Regions from separate parts of the Homo sapiens genome. Here region 1 is linked to region 2. Evidence: promoter capture Hi-C in 16 types of primary human blood cells and fetal thymus (Javierre and others, 2016). All regions are on one chromosome and are shown on one strand. Each heading gives the region's core, a stretch centred on a gene start or on the middle of the fragment in contact. The rest is flanking DNA. Distances are from core to core; before and after follow the strand shown. Region 1 overlaps OSBPL2 (oxysterol binding protein like 2). Region 2 holds the start of GID8 (GID complex subunit 8 homolog).

What was found. Contacts are between HindIII fragments. The CHiCAGO score rates a contact against its expected background, and 5 or more counts as called.
Region 1: a contact is called between a fragment that was not itself captured here and the fragment with the promoter of GID8 in region 2, in 1 of 17 cell types (neutrophils). The highest score is 6.5, in neutrophils.

Annotation. Positions count from the first base shown.
Region 1 is chr20:62,238,834-62,245,215 of GRCh38, forward strand. All of the region lies in intron 1 of OSBPL2 (oxysterol binding protein like 2), which reads left to right. Among named protein-coding and RNA genes, the nearest start is that of OSBPL2, 3.5 kb to the left of the region's middle. RefSeq lists enhancers at 513-1,437, 4,960-5,568, 5,569-6,176. The HindIII fragment of the contact is 4,482 bases long and covers 2,552-6,382 here.
Region 2 is chr20:62,934,805-62,940,648 of GRCh38, forward strand. GID8 (GID complex subunit 8 homolog) reads left to right here and starts at 3,343. Exons shown (of 5, transcript NM_017896.3): 1 at 3,343-3,449. It also overlaps a transcript of DIDO1 not described here. RefSeq lists silencers at 2,544-2,593, 2,864-2,913, 3,284-3,513, 3,584-3,713 and an enhancer at 3,409-4,077. The HindIII fragment of the contact is 7,388 bases long and covers 1,280-5,844 here.

The DNA of each region.
Region 1 (6,382 bases), core at 3,543-6,042, 690 kb before region 2:
CCGGGCGTGGGGCCTGGGCCTGGGTCCCGCGGCCCCCGCACCCTTCCCCCTGCGGTCGCCCGGCAACTGCGATCCCGGGACCCCCGGCCCGGCCCCCCCGAGATCCCCAGCCCCCCTGCTGCCCCGCTGAGCAGGAAGTGGGGACGGGCGCACCTGCTCGCGGCCTCGCCCTCTCTCACCACCTCACCGGGAACAGGGAAGGATTTCGTGCGCATTTAGGGCGATCCTGTAGGTGAGGAGGGCGAGTTCCGCCGGGAAGAAGGGCAGGGAGACGCAGTCCCACTCCGACCCTGGCCTTCTTGTCCCGCAGGCCTGTGTGCACGTCGTCCCGGGGAGGGTGCCCGCGAGCCCTTGTCCGTTCCCCTGGGCTCTGTTTTTGTTTTTAATTTATAAATCTTAGCAGACTACACACGGTTGAGAACTTGCTACCTAAAACCTATCTTTGGTAATGTAATTTTAAGAGGTTCCTTCTTTCGCCAGTTATATTTTGGTACTCAGAAGAATACGTCTTTAGACTTTCCAAGTTTATAAGCCCAGACCAAGACTGTTAGGTCGTCACAGCACCTCAGCCTCCCCGCTTCATGGGAGGACCGGCGACGAGGCAGTGGGTGTCGGGGTGTTGCAGGCTCTCCTGGGGTGAGGGTCACCTCCCAGGGGCGTTTCTATCTGAACCGTCCTCTAGGACAGGCCCTGGCCTAGCCTGGCTCCGGCAGCTTTGGGATGACTGCCCGGAACACCTGGAGAAGGGGTCCCATTCGGTTTGGTTGGATAGACGTTTCTCGAATGCCTGCTGTGGGCCTGGCTGGGTGCTGTGCGGCCTTCCCACCAGCTGGATGTGTGGTGAGGACAGCGGAGAGTTGAGGAGCCCGGAACTGGTGCAGGGGCCACATGCTGGGAAGCCACGGCCGTCCCTGCTGCCCTTCCTAACTCGTGCCCATGGCCTCTTTTCTGGCTGTCAGCCTCAACTCCTTCATCCGGACATGTAGCACTTTGCTGATAAGAGAAGCAAACGAGATCATTTTCTTGTTTTATGTTTTGAGATGGAGTCTCGCTTTGTTGCCCAGGCTGGAGTGCAGTGGTGCGATCTTGACTCACTGCCACCTCCGTCTCCCGGCTTCAAGCCATTCTCCTGCCTTAGCCTCCCATCTAGCTGGGACCACAGGCGCCGGCCACCACGCCCGCCTAATTTTTTTATTTTTAGTAGAGATGGGGTTTTACCATGTTGGCCAGGCTGGTCTCGAACTCCTAACCTCAAGGGATCCGCCTGCCTCAGCCTCCCAAAGTGCTAGGATTCCAGGTGCGAGCCACCGCGCCCTGCCATGAAATCATTTTCTACCACAGTCTCTGACACCTAGTGCGCACCCCGGAATGCCAGTTACCTTCCCCTTGTTGAGGACAGGAACTTTGTCGGTGGCACTTCCTCCCTGCCCAGCCCAGTGCCTGCCACAGTGTCGTCTTTTAGAATGTGGCAATGAGTGAGTGAGTGACTGAGTCTCCCTCATAGAATTTACCCTGTTTTCTTCATGTGTCCATCTATTAATGACAGCTCTTACCCCAGCAGACGATAATATTTAATAATGATTGTTCCAGGACTGTTACGAGCATGTCGTATTCACTTTCTTTGTGTGATCTTCACAACAGTCCACTGGGCAGGTACTGACATTATCCTTAGTTCATTCATGAGGAAGCTAAGGAACAGAGAGGTTAAGTAACTTACCTAAACCACACAGCAGTAAATTATGAAATATGGATTTGAACCCAGGCTCCAGGGTTCACACTCTTAAACACTACCCTGTACTGCCTTTTAATATCAAGATTTTCATTTAACATTTTCGTTTAGAATATTCTAATCATGCTGCATTACTCTGTGTCAGAATTTCGGGATTTTGCTACATATAGAACTAATAGACTTTCTTTTTTGTGAGCCTGAGTGTTTACAAAGCCATTTCATTTTTTCTGAAATAAAGTAATTTACCGTTTGACCATTCAGGATTTTGCCAGAATACCTTCCCTGCCACCCAGCTCCTTTGTTACTGGCAGATTCAGTGGTGGTCTCTGTGTGAAGAGGGAGGACTGAGGGGCATGGGTGCTGACAGGCGTACAGTCCAGACTCTGAGGTCTCCGTTCTGAGTTCAGTTCCAGGGGACTTCACACACTGCCTTAGAGTACACACGTAGGACATTTTTCTTCCACGCCTCGAGTGCGTTGAGAGGGTCAGACTCTGCTGTGTTCCACATGTTAATGAGAGGTGCTGTTTGAATGTGAAAAAAATGCCACTTGACTTTCATCCCAGTGTCTCTCCTCTGTGCCGTCCAGGAGATGCCAGCAGATGGGTCTTGGAATTTTTTTTTTTTTGAGATGGAGTCTCGCTCTGTCGCCCAGGCTGGAGTGCAGTGGCGCGAACTCGGCTCACTGCAAACGCGAACTCAGCTCACTGCAAGCTCTGCCTCCCGGGTTCACACCATTCTCCTGCCTCAGCCTCCCAAGTAGCTGGGACTACAGGCGCCCGCCACCACACCTGGCTAATTTTGGGTCTTGGATTTGTCATTAAAGCTTGCTCGACTTTTAAAGTTTTAGTACATTCAGCCAATTACAAAAGTGACATTTTGTATAAGGGAATTGTTGACACATTTTAGGTTCTTATGCTGTCTTCAAGCAGGGAAGCTGCCATCTCCTCAAGGTGATTTCTTTAATGTCCCCATGCAAGCCATGTCTTGTCTGGCCGTGCAGGCACAGCTGGCGCCGTGCCTTCCTGAGTCACAGCATCTTTGCGAAGGTGGTGCGCCAGACCAGGGCTCTTGGGTCCTGGGTGGGTTCCCACTGGCTCCTGCCTTCAGTGTCTTTGCCTGTAAGACGGATTACTATGTGGAATCTGTGAAAATATAACATCAAGTGTCTGATACGTTGTGGGTGCCTGGGCCGCCCTTGGCTCCAACACCTGCTGAAGCTGGAGCCTCTCAGCAGTGCAGCAGTCACACCCTCAGGTGTCCCGGGATCTTTGGGTGTGGGCTGATTTTCTCCTAGTCATTGTCATACTTCCTGTTTGGGTGTTGACATTTCGTTTAGTGTTTAGCACAGATTGTCAGGTACGAGGTTTAATTCCAATATGTAGTACATTTTCAGGTTGATTTATAACCTTATCTACACTGAAAGGAAGTCAGTATTTGAACATGACTGATTATTAAAAAGGACCGAAGTCCTGAGTTAATATGGTGGGTTCTGGTTTGATAGTTTAAATGCACTTTCCACATATGCTAGTTGATTTGTAAATCTGCTGTCATTTTTGCTTTTTCAGAGTGTTCTTGCTAGTGAGTTTCAGGCATGGTGTCCCGGCCTCTCAGGCTGCTGGTTTGGGCTAGGGTCCCACTGTGGAAGCGTGGTGGTGTCCCGGCCCACCTCTGCAGCTCTTGATAATAAAAGCATCTGTTAAATAGCTCACAGCACTGTTTGCGTGAACTTTTTGGCACTTCTTTCCTTTTCCTTCCAGATTCAGAAAAGAACTTGGGATCATTCAGCAGAATGTCACAGCATCCACATTCTTTCCGCTGGAGCTTCTGCTGATGCAAATCCTGTGACCTCTGAGTTGAGCTGAGTGGTGGAAGTGAGCTTTTATAAGGGACTGGATCTGAGACTCGTGCCTGATGTTTGTGGCTGTTTCTCTTTGCTTGCCTTCTGTTTTCAGTGGAACACTCGCTTGATGTATTTTGAGAAACAAACTCTGGGATCAGTCCTGTTGAGCTAGTGGCTGGCTCCATAGTTTGGGGCCTGAAGAGGTTCCCGCACCCTCAGGGCTTGTGGCGGTCATCAGGCCTCTCTCCTGGGTGTAAGGTGTGTACTTCTCACCTGCGCACTGAGGGCCTGGGGGCTGTGGCCCCGACGCTGAGGCAAGTCAGGGGTGGGAAGGGTCTGAGGGGCTCTTGGCTGAGCAGACACTGAGCACATTTCTTTATCAAAGGCGCTGGGACTGCAACCTTCAGGGGTGCCCAGAGAGCGCCTGTTGTGGGCTCATACGGGGAGTTCTTGGAGGAGCACCAGGCAGGGAGGACTGTAGTGTGTAGGGAGTTGTGTGGAGTTTTGGTTCCAGAAAAGACGGAGGCAGCTGTAGAGGAAGGAGGACTATGGTGTGGAAGTGAGTGCCTGTGCTTTGTACTGAATAAACCTAAGGCTGATCCAAGGCTGATCGTGAGAAAGAGCCCCCTGTAACCTGGGACCTTGTGCCACTGTGCTCGGCCAGAGAGCAACTTCCATTATTGCCTTAAAACTAGGGGGACTGTGATTCAGTGACATTTCGGTGACTCCGATAATGACGGCAGGTGTCAGGTGCGCACAGGGCGTGGGGCTACCCTCTTACTGTGAAAGAGGACACGGGCTGCGTCTGTGGTGGCGAGCTCCTGCGAGTGCCCTGGCTCTGGCTTGGCCTCTCTTGATGATGTAGCAGAGCTGGGAGTCTCGCTGTAATCATCACCCGTCTTCCAAGTAAGTCTCACCTGTGGGAAATGCTGGAACACCTGAGCGGAAGCAGAGCCAGGGCAGTGCCTGAGCTGGGGCCAGGGGAGGGGTCCCAGTGCAGAGGTGCCCGAGGAGCCCTAGCGCCTGCCCCGCAGCCCCTGCCCCGCAGCGCCTGCCCCGCAGCGCCTGCCCGGCAGCTCCGCCTCTTCAGTGGCTCGGCTGTCAGGGTAGAAGGCTCCTGGGTTAACATCATGGAGTTTTCACCCCTGCTTCTCATCAGAAAAGCTGGGGGAACTTTTTAAAAAGTGTGGGTTCAAGGCCCAGCCCCAGCTTCACTGAGCCTGGGTTTCCCGGGAGGGGCCCAGGAAGAGATGTGTTTAACAAGCTCGGGAGGGTCTGGGGTGGGTCCTCAGCGGGGAGTCCAAGTGCTGGAGGCCCACGGTGGGGTCAGGACCCTTTTTTAGATCAAGGACCCCTTTGAGAACTTCATGAATATGAATAATGTGGGTCATTATTCTGGGGAAAAAAATGAACGAAAAATTTTTTTTCCTGTTTTTTTAAATTTTTTAATTAAAAAAAAATTTTTTTTGCAGAGGGTAGGGGGGTTAGAGATTGGTGGTTTTCCCTGACCTTGGTTTGAAGCCCTGCCTGTAGGTGCTCAGGAAGCACAGTTGGCAGCCACGTGGGCAGGTCTGATGTTAGGGTGACAGGTTTCTCAGCACAGTGGACCCCATTAGGGCTGCACAGGATGAAGATGGGCACGATGGTGAGGAGGGCCTGGAGCTGAGGCCACAGAGAAGGAGGCGGCCAGAGGGCAAGGACGCACTCCAGCAAGCCAGCCACTCCTTGGCTGGGCAGGTGCCCTGGGGAAGGCCGGGAGCCCTGCAGGACAACAGCCTCTCACCTGGGTCACTCACTTCCCTTTGCTGTCTTAATTTTCCTCCCACTCCCTCACCGCGTCCTCCGCCTGCTGTGGCCCTTGCTGGGTTGTGAGATGTGGGTACAAGGTGTCTCCTTCTCCTCTAGCTGCAGCCGCAGGCTGGGCTCCTCTCGGGGCCGTTGGTTTTGATCATCAGAGATACACAGCGGCGGCGGGTCGGGGGCTGGCTGGACTGCTGCTGCCCTTGGAGTGCTCTCCCTGCCCTCCGGCATGGCTTTCTGAGAGCAGGGCGCCCGTGAGCTGTGGGGCATGCGCCCTGTCCATTGCCTTCCCACCCAGTCTCGTGGGCCGCATTGGAACAGCTTTTTATTGTGTTGCATAAGGAGAAGGTTGATTAAAACACATGTTTTTGTACGGAAGCGCTTGCATTCATCTTGTGTGTTTGGAAATACATCGTACTGCATTACAAGGTAATGTTCCTCGAGGTGCGTGGTGTATTTTTGGCAATTAATATTCCACAGGAAGCAGTTAAGTCAGCGACAAGACTTGAGGGAGTTGACTGTGGTGAGTGGGGCGCTAGGCTCCGCTTCCGGGACGTCGGGCCACACTGGCCGCGAGGCCCAGTGGGAAGGTTTGCCACTCCCCACAGCTGCTTCTTGGGACCAAGCCGGGCTCACCTTTGCCTGCCTCTCAAGGTCACCCTCTTGGCATGGAGAATGGTAAACAGTGGGGGTGCTGCTGTCTGCACAGTGGGAGAGGTTCACCTGCCTTTCTCAGTGTAGAAACTTCCTGCGTGAATTCTGGACTGATGCAGAGTCCTCATGTGCACCTGGCAAGTTTGCCTGGCTGGCACGCGTAGCACAGGGCCTTCCCGAGTCAGGGTTGAGCCATTCGTGTGTCCACGCTGGTGTCTTAGGATAAAGGGCTGAAATCTGTTCTTTTTTTTTTTTTTTGAGACGGTGTCTTGCCTCTGTCGCCCAGGCTGAAGTGCAGTGGCGCGATCTCGGCTCACTGCAACCTCCGCCTCATGGGTTCAAGTGATTCTTGTGCCTC
Region 2 (5,844 bases), core at 2,093-4,592:
AGCTTCTCGAAACTGGACACCCTGTGGCTTCAGGGAGCGCCTTTGAAGCCCCTGGTTCTTGTCAGACCCCCCGGCCACTTTCTTGCTACCCTTCATAGGCAGCTTCTTCCTTAGTGAATACAGCTTGCAGCTCTGCATTCTGGACTTGATCCACTCCTTGTCTCCATGGGCTTCCTCTGAATACTGTACCCATCAACTCTCAACTCTAGCCCTGCTCTTCCCCTTGAGCTTTAGATGTGTCCCACAGGCACCTCCAATTGAATGAGGCCCACGGTGAACTCACCACCTTTCCCTCGTTGTTGCACCTCCTTCTTCTTCATGATCATTCTCAGTTGGTGCCACCACCTCATCAGCTGGGCTACTCACCCGCATCACTCTGGTCTTCCTTCTTAGCTCCCACAAATTGTCAGTCACCAAGGACTGCTCATTTCCATCCTGACTGAAGGTCTCTTTCCATTTTTGCTAGTATTGCTTCCAGTTAAGATCCTCATAATCATTCACTCATTTATTCCTTCGTCACTCAACAAATAAATATTTATGGAGCTCCTATTACGATTTAGCCATAATCAACTCACATGAAGCTTACCATTTTATGCTGAATCATGACATCCCATCAGACAGCAACCACACGGACCGTGTGCTAAGAGCTACGAAGAGCTAAGTTAGGATTCTGTGCAAGCATAAAGGAAAGGCACTCAATCCAGCTTTGTTAGGGAAGACTTCCCCGAGAAAGCCACGTCTCTACTGAGGAGGTGAGCAGGAGTTAGCCTAGGGAAGGCTGTTAGCTAGGGCCCAGACTGAGAGCACAGCGATAACAAAGCTTGTTGACATGAGAAAACCTCCAATCAGCTGGGATGGCTGGAGCAGAGAGTAAGATCAGGAGTGCAGACTTATAGCTGCGCTAACTTTACACAGGCAACTGGGGAGTCCCCAAGGGATGTTAGAAGGATAGAGTCAATGAGTGATGGCTTTTGGAGAGATCACCCTGTCTGCTATGTGAGAGGTAGTGACAGGACTTCTGGAGCTCAACAGGAGTTACGGAGACATCCTGGCAATCCAAAAAGCAAAGATGATGGCTTCCACGTTATGGTGGAAGAGGCTGGGAAACAACACAAAGGAGCCAGTTTCTAGAGAGGATTAAGGAGGGGGCTCGAGCAGGACTTGGTAACCGGTTGGCTGTTGGGAGGAGGAGCATTAACCTGTGACCCACAGGCAGGCACTGAGACAGCCTCTTTGGACTGGAATGTTAAGGAATGTCGCCTTAAGGCGCTAGCACTCAAGCTTTCTGCTCGTGCATCCCCTTGCACACTTTCTCCTTGACGTTCAGGCTGGGCATGGTGGCTGACGCCTGTAAACCCAGCACTCCCAGAGGCCGAGGCGGGAGGATGGCTTGAGCCCAGGAGATCGAGACCAGCCTGGGCAAGAAGGCAAGACCCCGTCTCTAAAAAACTTTAAAAAATAAAAATAGGCCGGATGCGGTGGCTCATGACTGTAATCCGAGCACCTTGGGAGGCCGAGGTGGGTGATCATTTGAGGTCAGGAGTTCGAGACCAGCCTAGCCAACATGGTGAAACCCCACCCGTACTAAAAATACAAAATAAGTAGCCGGGCGTGGTGGCGGGTGCCTGTAGTTCCAGCTACTCGGGAGGCTGAGGCAGGAGAATCACTTGAACCCAGGAGGCGGAGGTTGCAGTGAGTCGAGATCATGACAGTGCACTCCAGCCTGGGCAACAAAGTGAGACTCCTTCTCAAAAAATAGAATAAAATAAAATCAAAATAGGCCGGGAGCGGTGGCTCACGCCTGTAATCCCAGCACTTTGGGAGTCCGAGGCGGGCGGATCACGAGGTCAAGACACTGAGACCAGCCTGACCAACAAGGGGAAACCCCGTCTCTACTAAAAATACAAAAATTAGCTGGGCGTGGTGGTGCGCCCCTGTGGTCCCAGCTACTCGGGAGGCTGAGGCAGGAGAATCGCTTGAACCCGGGAGGCGGAGGTTGCAGTGAGCCGAGATGGCGCCACTGCGCTCCAGCCTGGGCGAGAGTGAGACTTCGTCTCAAAATAAATAACTAAATAAAGACCAATAACTGTTTCCCATAGGGTTATGTAGTTGCAAATGAAAAAATTACTGGCATGTACTGCCTCTGCATATGAAGCATAATTTTGTCAAGACCTTATACCTGCAGATTTAGCTCTTTCGATTAACGGAAAATGTCCAAAATCAGTCTCCTCCAACCTATTTGCCGAACTGGACTTACTGTCGCTGAGTAGACCGACCGACATAGCTTACACGTTGTTCAGCTCGCTTGTAAGCAAACACACGAAACCACCTCACCCCTGACTTCAGAAAGAAGCCGTCCCGTGAATTCCTCACAGATGAAATCAGGAGCTGCCCCTCAAGGACTCTATTTCTTCCTTCGGCTCTATCAAATATTTTAAGGTACTTCCCAGCAACGGAAACATGGGACCCTGCAATGACAGACTTCGCATTCCTCCTGAGCGGACAGGCAATAAGCAAGTAAACGCGCAAATACCCAAGTGCGGCCTCAACCCGCGCTCCTGCCGGGAGGGTCTCCAGTCACCGAGTAACCCCGGCCCTGCCCCGCGCCGCCGCCGGGACTCCGCCCCGCAAGCAAGTGGGGTCTCCTTTGTCCCGCGCGCCCTGGCCGCGTCCCGCCCTTCGGCGTAGCCCATGGGAGGCGCCCTGAGGGCAGGGCCCTTCTGATTCCCCACCTGGCCTCGAGTGAGGACGCGCTCAACAACATCTCGAGTAAAGCGGGGGAACTCGCTTCAACGCGCAGACAGCACAGCTCTCGCCCAGCCCGGTCTCGGGTCAGCCGTCTCTCCCTGGACCTCAGGGACACTAGCCCTGGAAGGCCGCCGGTCGGGAGGGGACTCCCTCCCCGTCTGAGGGGCGGCCGCGGACACCCGGCGCCTTTCCCCCGCCCCACCCCGTGCGGCCTCACGCAAACGACAGGAAAAAAGCTGGGACCTTCGCCTCCGACTCAGTGTAGACGTCGCCATCCCGGTTCCAGATTTCCGCGCTCCAACGCCTCCGCAGCAGCCATCTTGCCAGAGGGCCGACGCCTTTTGACTCTGGCGCCAACCCGTAGTGCGTGGTCGCCGCGAGGGGAGTTCTGCGCAAGTACGGAAGCTGAGGTTCCGCGCTTCCGGGAGGCCGTCCGCCCCGCCCCCTCGCGGGGGCGCTTCATTGGTCATCGGCTCGCGCTCTCGCGCTCTCTTGCTGTCGCGAGAGGTGCTGAGGGGCGGCCTCCGGTGCGCCTGCCCTCCCGCTCCCCGCCCCCGCCCCCGCCCCCGCCTCCGCCGCGGCCCCCACCTCTGCCTCCTTCTACTCGGGCGCCCCGGCGGCCGCCACCTCTCCCCAGCCCAGGAGAGGCTGCGGAGCCGCAGCCGCCCAGACCGCGCAGCGCGGGAGGCAGGTTCCGCACGGTAAGATGGCGGCGGCGGGCCCGGGCGGCCGGGCCGAGCGTCTCCCGGGGCCGGGCCGGGCGGGCAGGCGGGATGTGGCCGGGGTGCGCGCCGCCCCCGCTCTGGGGGCCTTGGAAGCGCCGGCGCTGGCAGGTGCGGAATTGGGGCGCGCAGTGAGTCCAGGCCCGGACGGCCGCCCCGCGCCGGTGCCCAGGGGGCAGTCAGGGCTCAGCCTCCAGGCGCGCGGCCTCAGGCGCTGGTGTTCTGGGGCGGTCCCGGCCAGCCTGAGGGGCGGCGGTAGCTGTCTCTGTGGAGGAGCGACGTCCGTAACGAAGTCTTTTTAATAAAATCTGCTGCTTTAAAGCAGAAACCGAGCGGGTGAGGATGTAAAGTGTGGCATGGAAAGTAGGAGTCTTCAGCACACGGGTGTTTTCTTCTGCTGAATCTTTTTATGCTGGAGTTTGAGACTACCGAGTTCTTCCTGCTAACAGGACTGGCCAGTTCTACAAAGTTGTTGCTTTTCATGGGCGCACGTAACTGCCCGGAGTGGAAGCGCTGTGAGTGCCGATCACCGAATGGGCCGAGAGAAAAGGTGCCTTTTCCTAGGGAGCTCTTAACGTTGGTCCTAGGGCCGGGCGCGGTGGCGGAGGTCGAAGTGGGCGGATCACTTGAGCCCGCGAGTTCGAGACCAGCCGTGGCAACAGCGAGACTCCCTTCTCTGCTAAAAATAAAAAAATTAGCCAGGCAGAGTGGTGCGCTCCTGTTGTCCCAGTTACTCTGGAGGCTGAGGTGGGAGGATCGCTTGAGCCCAGGAGGTCGAGGCTGCGGTGAGCCATGATCGCGCCACTGCCCTCCAGCCTGGGCGACAGAGCGAGGCTCTGTCTCAAAAAAAAAAGAAAAAGAAAATGAGTCCTTAAGTTACCATTAATTGTCGTGAATAAAAAGTTGGTCTCAGTGAGTTTTGCAGTTGACAACGAAAGATGGGTGTTCGTGTGTGACAGCGACTCCTGGTTTCTCCTCCACTTTACCTGCCGCTCCACATCAAGTTTTCTTCTGCTGGTGCCACTTTCTCTGCTTTACCTTCAAGGTTGGCATCCTCCAAGTAATGGCGATTCTCATTCCCTATCTACGCTCTTCCTATGGTCTTTGCTGAATTCTTGGCTTTAAATATCCCTGTGCCCCAGCACCGCCCCCCCCGCCCCTTATTTCACTAATTCATGTTTTCAGCTCTGAGCTCAGGATCTGTAATTCAGACACCTGCTTGATTTCTCCAGACGCATGTCTAATAGTCACGTCAAACTTGCCCTGCTTCTCAAACCTGTTCTTCTTCCAGTCCTTCCTCCTTATTTGTGGCCCCATCTTGCAGGGCCTCTCATGCTTGAAACCTGTGACCATCTTCTATTCTTCCCTCTCTTTTGTCCGGTAATCTGTCTAGCAGCAGCCATTGACTCTGGCCAAAGCATCTTGATCTCACCTTGCTCTCCATCTCTTCTGCCGATGTTCTCTCTCGCTTGGGTGTCTCCCTAAGGGACTGGCTGCTCAGATCTCACCACCCTGCATTCATCCCATTTTCAGCCAAGAGACCAAAGTTTTTTAATTTATTGAAACACTTTAGCAGTACTTCGTATAAAGTAGTATGTGTAACGTATGTATCAGTGGCAAAAGAGAAAGACAGAGTGGACGGTGGCGTGCCCCTGCCTGTCTCAGGTATCCACCCATTCTCCCAAAGCCGGAACAGCTGCCTCTGGGGCTTCAGCCATTTGCCCCTCCCACAGGTAACCCCCTCCTGAGTGTCAGCTTTCATGCCCTTATTTAAAAAAAAACAAACAAAATAGGTTTGCCACGTACATATTTGTTGCTAAAGCACATGTCATGTATTTTGTCTTGTTGTTCCTGATAAAACTCACGGCAGATTTGGCCTCTCCTGCAACTCTCTTTTTCTTTTCTTTTTTTTCTTTTTTTTTTTTTTTGAGACGGAGTCTCGCTCTGTCGCCCAGGCTGGAGTGCAGTGGCACCATCTCGGCTCACTAGAAGCTCCACCTCCCGGGTTCACGCCATTCTCCTACCTCAGCCTCCCGAGTAGCTGGGATTACAGGCATCTGCCACCATGCCCGGCAAATTTTTTTTTTTTTTTTGAGACGGAGTCTTGTTCTGTCGCCCAGGCTGGAGTGCAGTGGCATGATCTCGGCTCACTGCAATCTCCGCCTCCCGGGTTCACGCCATTCTCCTGCCTCAGCCTCTGGAGTAGCTGGGACTACAGGCGCCCGCCACCGAGCACGGCTAATTTTTTGTATTTTTAGTAGAGACGGGGTTTCACCGTGTTAGCCAGGATGGTCTGGATCTCCTGACCTTGTGATCCGCCCGCCTCGGCCTCCCAAAGTGCTGGGATTACAGGCGTGAGCCACCGCGCCCGGCC